Linked DNA regions of Homo sapiens: region 1 is linked to region 2. Evidence: promoter capture Hi-C in human tissues and cell types (Jung and others, 2019). All regions are on one chromosome and are shown on one strand. Each heading gives the region's core, a stretch centred on a gene start or on the middle of the fragment in contact. The rest is flanking DNA. Distances are from core to core; before and after follow the strand shown. Region 1 overlaps PTPN3 (protein tyrosine phosphatase non-receptor type 3). Region 2 holds the start of PTPN3 (protein tyrosine phosphatase non-receptor type 3).

The links. Contacts are between HindIII fragments. The study calls those that stand out against the background at their distance.
Region 1: a fragment that was not itself captured here is called in contact with the fragment with the promoter of PTPN3 in region 2 in 2 of the 25 tissues and cell types used here (aorta and small bowel).

Annotation. Positions count from the first base shown.
Region 1 is chr9:109,462,493-109,466,406 of GRCh38, reverse strand. PTPN3 (protein tyrosine phosphatase non-receptor type 3) reads left to right here. Exons shown (of 26, transcript NM_002829.4): 2 at 2,956-3,110. The coding sequence starts at 2,973. Among named protein-coding and RNA genes, the nearest start is that of PTPN3, 34 kb to the left of the region's middle. The HindIII fragment of the contact is 5,519 bases long and covers 1-3,914 here.
Region 2 is chr9:109,496,456-109,500,413 of GRCh38, reverse strand. PTPN3 (protein tyrosine phosphatase non-receptor type 3) reads left to right here and starts at 2,107. Exons shown (of 26, transcript NM_002829.4): 1 at 2,107-2,195. The HindIII fragment of the contact is 6,343 bases long and covers 1-3,958 here.

The sequences.
Region 1 (3,914 bases), core at 362-2,861, 34 kb after region 2:
CTTGGCCTCCAGAGTAGCTGGGACTACAGGTGCACACTACCGTAGCTAGCTACATTCTACTTAGACCCTCCCCCATTTTTCTCTGTCAAATTTGTCTATCCTGTTGTATTGCTATACGGTATTGTTGTACTGCAGTACTGCTATATAGTCTATGTTATATAGACTATAAAATTTAGCTTCATTTTCTATTTCATTCTTCCTTCCATTCATTCGGACATTTACTAACTCTACCAGACCTAGGTTTGGAGGTACAATGAGCAAAAGCAGACCTAGCCTTGTGGGGCTTCGCATCTAGTGGGAGAAGCAGATATTAAATACACATCATGAGTTCTAAGTGTGAAATGAGGGTAAGCACTAGTGAGTGAACTCTGTCACACAAATCTGTGACTGGTTAGGGAGACCAGGGAAGGCTTCCCAGAGGAAGTGATGCTTGTGCTGAGCACTGACGATGAACTGGAGTTAATCAGATGAAGAGGAGCAGAAAGAGCTTTGCAAGCAGAAGGAATAGCCTATGCAGAGGCCCAGCTCATCAGAGAAAGTTTGTGGAGAATTAATAAAAAAAAGTTAACTTACTCTCAGGCCCTTCATCTTTATTTGCTCTTCCACCCAACACTGTCAGAGTTATATCTTCACCGTTCCCTGAGCCAATTTGATTTGTAGAATTACTTCACATATTCTTTTTTTTTTTTTTTTTTTTTTTGAGACAGAGTTTTGTTCTTTTTGCCCAGGGAGTGCAATGGCGAGATCTCAGCTCACTGCAGCCTCCGCCTCCTGGGTTCAAGTGATTCTCCTGCCTCAGCCTCTGGAGTAGCTGGGATTACTGGCGCATGCCACCGTGCCCAGCTAATTTTGTATGTTTAGTAGAGATGAAATTTCACCATGTTGGCCAGGCTGGTCTCGAACTCCTGATCTCAGGTGATCCGTCTGCTTCAGCCTCCCAAAGTGCTGGGATTAGAGGTGCATGCCACCATGCCTGGCTAGTTTTGTATGTTTGGTACAGATGAGGTTTCATCATGTTGGCCAGCTGATCTCGAACTCCTGACCTCAGGTGACCCGCCCGCTTCGGCCTCCCAAAGTGCTGGGATTACAGGCGTGAACCACCGTGCCCGGCTGCTTCATGTATTCTTTGTAGAAGCCTAGATCCTCCCACCTACGTGATATAGTCATGTCCTCAGTTGCACACCTTTCCAGTCTTTTTGCCTACCTCTCCACCATTGAAATCACCGGTTAAACCAGTTTCCTTACTGTTCCCTAATATCATGGTCAGATTTTGAATGCCCTCTAATTCTCTCTTCATAAATATTATACTCTCTTTTTCAAAAAAGTAAACTTGTTATTAAAACATACATATGGAAAAGTACACAAATCATAAATGTAGAGCTTGGTAAATTGTCACAAAGTGAGTACACCAGTGTCATTAGCACCCACATCACGAAATAGAATGTTAAAAGCATCTCAGAAAATGCATCTCCCCCTTCCCCTCACTACACACAAAGGTAACCATTATCCTTTCTTCTATCAGCATTGATTAGTTTTGCCTGTTTGTAAACTTTACATAAATGGAATCATGCAGCAGATAATCTGTTGTGTCTCATATCTTTTGCTCAATGTTAAAGCAATTGATTCACGTTTTGCATGTAATGGTAGTTCATTTCTTTCTTTTGCTGTATAGTAGTATATGGTATGACTGTACCACAGTTTATCCGTTCCACATTTGATAAATGGGGTCTTTTCCAGCTTAGGATTATTATGAATATTCTTTTTTGTTGTTGTTATAAATTATGATTTTATTAGATACATATTTTGGTCCAAATCTTTGAATTGTCGTGACTTTAAAAAAAATTTTTTTTAGCTTACAAGTTCTGAGTACATGTGCAGGTTTGTTATATAGGTAAATTGAGTGTCTTGGAGATTTGGTGTACAGATTATTTTGTCAAATGCGTCATAAGCATAGTACCCGAAAGGTAGTTTTGCAATCCTCACCCTCCTCCCACACTTCACCCTCACGTAGGCCCTGGTAGCTATTGCTCCCTTCTTTGTGTCCATATGTTCTCAAAGTTTAGCTCCCACAAGATGCTGGTACATGTCTTTTAGTGAGTGAATATACATTTTTCTGCTGGGAATGTGCCCATGACTGAAATTGTTCTATCACAATAAATGCATATGTTGAGCTTTAGTAGATACTATTCAGCAGTTTTCCATCGTACAGTGGTTGCACTGAGTTATGCTTTCACCAGCAGCATGTGAGAGTTCTGGTTGCTCCACACCCTCCGTGGTTTTGCCAGTCTTGAATCATAGGGGTTCTCTGGTGGGTGTGTGGTACTATTGCTTTGTGGGTTTAATTTGCATTTCTTTGACAGCTAATATGGTTGAGTACCTGTTTTTGTTTTCTTCCTGTTTTCTAAGGAGTTTTCTGTTACTTCCTCTCACTAGGTTAGCAGGAGCACTCCATATATTCTTGGCAGATGTATATATTGCGACTATCTCCTCCCACTCTATCGGTTGCCTTTTTGCTGCCCTAAATGGTGTCTCTCAATGAATAGAGGTCCTTAATTTTAATATCAGTTTATCAATGAGTCTTTTCACATTTGAAATCATATTTATACCATGTTTAGTTCTGTAAAACCTTAGAGGTAGAACACAAATACATAAAATTGTGAAACATAAATAAAAATTTAAAAGCCTGGGAAATATAAATTAGAAGACTCAGACCAGGGAGTTAATAAGACATGCAAATAAGCCACGTAATTCTGTGAACGTACAATTTAGCAATACATATTGCTTAGAGCATCTTAGAAGTCAAAACTCAATTGGAAACATGATCTGCTATGTAGTTCTCATTATCTGTGAGTCCGTCAGACAGTATCGAGAGGATGGGATCTGACAGGTATCTGCACTCACAAGTAACTGACAATTCGCATATTAAAGCACTAACAGGTATATTTTATGTTACAGGTTATTCAGCGATAGTTATGACCTCCCGGTTACGTGCGTTGGGTGGAAGAATTAATAATATACGCACCTCGGAGTTACCCAAAGAGAAAACTCGATCAGAAGTCATTTGCAGCATCCACTTTTTAGATGGCGTGGTACAGACCTTTAAAGTTACTGTAAGTTCTCTACTTTTTTTTTTTACTTTTCCTGAATTAATGCTCCTAACAAATAGTTTTCATCTCTTGGCTCACAAAATGAAGAAAAAAATATTTTAAAATGAAAGCTTGAGATCTCAGATCTTGTATGTTGAGATTGCACTGGAAATACTTAAAAATGTTGCCCCAATTTCACCTCTGCCCTGAGGGTCTTCCCCCCGCCCTTCTGTGTGGTGTGAACTGTTTGACGCTCAGATGTTGGTGCTTCTGGGAAGTCCTCATCCACTTTCTGAAGGAGACTGGTTTGGGAAGTGGATGAGGACTCCACGGAAGCACCAACATCTGGAGGCATCATGGCACCCTATATATGCTTCATTAGAGCCCACGTCAGGTTGCATTTTTTCAAGTAGTGATTAGGGTATATGTTGCCCATGAAACTGAGCTCCTTGAAAACAGGAAAGAATAGAAAGGGTGTTGTTTCCCCCGTGCCTGGCACAAAGCTGGGCACACAGCATGTGCTCGTTAAATGTGTGAGTGAGTGGGTTGTGAAACAATCAGCCTCACAGATGGCAGGGCTTGGGGAGGTTCTGGCTCATCCCACTTAAAGCCCGTGGCAGAGCCAGCACTAGAAACGAGGTCTCCAGTCTCCCAGGCCAGCTGCAGGAAGATACTGGGACCATGGCTGCCTATGGTGCCCACCCACCCCAGTCACCACCGAGCCCGTGACCTTTGCCCATGACCTCTTCCATCCTCTGGCCAGTCCTAACAGGATCAGTCCCAACCCTGAACTGGCTGCTAGGATCTGCCCCAACCTGTAAAGTTCAG
Region 2 (3,958 bases), core at 858-3,357:
GTCTTTCCTTTAGGTGTAAGCATGTTCCTAGCTCAAAGTTGAGGGCATCGTTTAAGCTAACAGCTGTTAGCTGTGGGAAAAGAAAAGGTAATTTCAGTCTAGGGGTCAGCAGATTAAGACAACTTCGAAAATTCACACATCCTCCGTTGACCTCGGTTTCCTCATCTCAGCAGTTGGCAAACTGGCATGAGGATGACGGCTGATTTTGGTAGGCACTCAAGAAATGGATCTTTAAGGTGGTCTAAACACGTTCACGTTCCTTATTTCACTCAACTTCCACTCGGGTGCCCAGATCGAAGCGTAGGTATTCACAATGGTTGAAGCACAGAGAGGATAAGGCAGTGGGGAAAGGACAGAGAATGCCTCCTGCTGAGCCCGGGGGCGCTGGGTGGAGCTCTGCGGGGGGCGTCGCCTGCCCCTCCAGGGGGCTCCTCCTTCCGGGGGCTCCGGCCCCGCCCGGCTCCGAGCATGCCCAGTGCGCTCCCCGCCCGTCCGAGTGGTGCTGAGCGGGCGCCGCGGCTCCAGGTTTTGCTGGCGACTCGAGGCCGGGCCGGGCCGGGCGGGGCGCGGGCGGTCCTGCCCCTGGACTCCGGGCTCCGTCGGAAATCCCCCCGACGCGATGCACGGGCGGCACCCGCTGCAGCGGCGCTATCCCGGGACGTGCGACTCCGGGACAAGGACCGAAATGAGGTTCCAGGGGCTGCCGAGGCCTCAGTCTATCCCTGGAACGACTGCCCCCAGGACCTGGCACCCAGGCCCGACTGGAGGGTTCCAACCATCTCTGCATCCCTTCGTTCACATATTCAACAAATAATGTTTGAGCGCCTAGTGTGTGCCAGACAGTGTTGCAGGGGGGTCACTGCAGTAAAGACAAGCAGAGCTACAGCCCCAAAGCTGACATTTAGGAGGGAAATACAACATGAGAATTAAACAAATCGGAGGAAAAGCCAAAGTGACCAACCTCATCTGCTCCTCTGCCTCCTTGCCGTTCCCTAAGCGGTCCGGCGCTCTTTTGGGTCTTGGCACTGGCTGTTCCCTCGGCCAGGAATGCTCTTCCCTGCTTATCTGCGTGGCTGAAATACCACTATCACCTTCTCAGTGTCACCCAATCAGACCGTCCATCAGCTCAAGGGCCCTATCCGACCGCTTCACTGAAAATTCACTGCTTACCTCCAGCCCCAAATCTCCTGACCCTGCTCTTTTTCCTCTTAGAACTTATCACTTTCTAATATAATGCATAGTTTGCTAATTTGCTGTTTATCTGTTACCTGTCCCTCTTTCCCCAAACTCCACTGGGGGACAGAATTTTTGTCTATTTGTTCCCCACGCGAGAAAAACCAGAATAGGTGCTCAATAAATATTTGCTGAAAATGGATAAATCACTGTTAAATGCTATGAAGAAAACAGAGTACACGGAGTGGTCAGGAGCAGAGGGCTAATCGAGGAAGGTGGTCAGGAAAGGCCTCTCTGAGGAGGGGACCTATGTACAATGAGAAGGCGCCGGCCACGTGAAAAGCTGGGCAAGAACGTCCCACAGAGGGAAAGGCGGGCGCCAATGTCCTGAGGTTAGTGAAGTTCGAGTGTTTGATGGACAGAAAGGCGCTCTAGGATCCGCAGGAAGGCAGGTGTGAGATGAGACGGAGGTGGGAAGCAGGAGCACAGATCAGGTAGGGGTCCCACGAGCCTTGGGGAGGTTTAACCAGGGAAGCTTACTAGTGCCAAGGGACGAGCACTGGACTGGAAGTCAGCGGGACCTCAGCTCAACCGCGCACCCGTCGTGCAAGACTCCTCATTTCAAAGTTTCTTTGGGCGCCGACTTCTTGCCTTCCCTAGGCATGAAATCACTGAGGGCCTGGCACACAGTAGGTGCCCAGTCATGGCTGTGGAACGAATGGCTGCATGCATGCGCGAGGGAACTCAGGACCTGCCCGGAGCTCGGCGGAGAGCCCCGGTGCCCCTAGGAGATGCGTCGGGGCGCGCCAGCCCGGGGCGGGGGCGGGAGAACACCGCAGGCCAGCCCGGACGCCCGCCCCCCGCCCGGCGCGCGGGCCCGTCGCGGCCAGCCCGGCCGGCGGGAACCGCCCGCGGGCGGCACTGGGCATGCTCAGACGGCGGCCAGGTCGCGCCGCGAGCGAGCTTCCGCGCCGCCCGCACGCGCGACCTACCTGGGCGCTCCGCGCCCCCGGATGCTGCAGGTACGGGCCCGTGCGACCCCAGCGGGCCGGGGGCAGGGTGCGGGGCTGCCGGGGGCCGGGGTCGCGCTCGGCGCCACCCCGCCCCCACCCGTCCCTGGGGCGCGCGGCGGACGCGCGGGCGGGCTGGCGGGTGCGGCTGCACCGGGATCCCCGCACCACGTCGGGGCGGGGAGGGGGCGCCCCGCTGCGCTCACCTGGCGGGGCCGGGGCGGGAGGGCGCGGGCGGGGCGCCGGGTGGGGCTCGGCCGGGGCGGGCTGGCGGCCGGGACGCGGCGCCGGAGCGTGGGCGTGCGCTCCAGCCGGGCAGGGGCGGGCGCAACCCGCGGAGCCCGTGCGTCCGGCACCTCCGGAGGACCCCGTGCCGCCGCGACCCCGGCTCGGGGCTCCGAGGGGGCACACAGCCCGCGGGGAGCTAGCCGAGAGCGGCTGCCAGCGCTCGGCTCCCAGGGCGAATCCGCCTCTCGGCTTTCAAAGATGGCATTTCCTGGGCCTGGCACGAAACTCCAGAGCCAATAAATCCTCCCCGTTCCGCGGACGATATGGAATGATTTATCAGGTACCTGCGGTGAGACAGCTGCAGATGGGGGAGTGTATGTGAGAGTGCCCAGCCCCCCCGAAATTCCCATTTTCAGCTACCTAAACTTACTGAGAAGTTGCGGTTGCCTTAAAAATTCATGGGAAGTTGAGACAACTTGACACCTGGGTTTTCCAAGCTGGTGGAAAGAGCTTGTGACTTGGAAACTGGAGACCTCCGTTCAAGTTGGGCTCCCCCTTGGCCAGCTGGTGACCTTGGCAAGTTGTTTAACCTCTCTGGTCCTCAGTTTCCTCCCTTGCAATCAGCTGGTAATAATGCCCACCTCGCTGGGTTGTTGAGTGGATTAAGTGGGATAAATTATGTGGAGGTGTTTGGCACCGTGCCCGGCACAAAGCTAGCAAGCAGTTGGCGTGATGTGAATTTAATTCGTTTAGAGACCCTCGTGGCTCTCATTTCAGGAGGAAATTAGAATTAGGAAACCATCTTCAGGGCCTAGTGGTGGAGTGACAGACCCTGTCTCTGTGCCCAGGAGAACTTCTGCCGAAGTCAAGGCCTTCGGAAAAACAATTTAGCCGAATTGTAATCAGAGAGCATCTCCTTTAAAAGCAGTTTTATACATTCAGAAACTCCAGAAGTTGGCAGTTGGCTTCACTTACAAAAGAGCTGTTTTGCAAGATGATCCATCTTGCAAATGTTTAAGCAGATGATGGGAGAAAGTAAAGCCTGCTTAGGAAGATTTCTGTTTTAAAAAGCTCCCAAATCCAACTTTAAGCGATTATTTAGATCAGGGTTTCTCAGCCTTGCACTATTGACATTTAGGGTTTGATAATTCTTTGTGTCCTGGGCATTGTAGGGTTTAGAAGCATCCCTGGTCTGTAGATTCCAGTAGCAATTCCTGTTCCCCAGTTGTTCCAATCAAAAATGCCTCCAGTATTGTCAGATGTCCCCTAGGGAGCAAAATGCCACCCCAGCACCCCTTTAGAACCACCAATTTAATTCTTGCTTTCTGTCATTAGCCCGAGTTGTTTGAGAATTTCATCTTGTGCTTTTGTAATAACTAACCTTTGCATAGCCTTATAGAACTTACAGAGTACATTCACCTGTATCGTCTTATTTAATCTTTACAACTCCCTTGTGAGACTGGTGTCACTCCCATTTTACAGATGAGGACATGGAGGCTCTGAGCAGCCAATTACACAGTATGTGGTAGAGCTGGGGTGTAACCCAA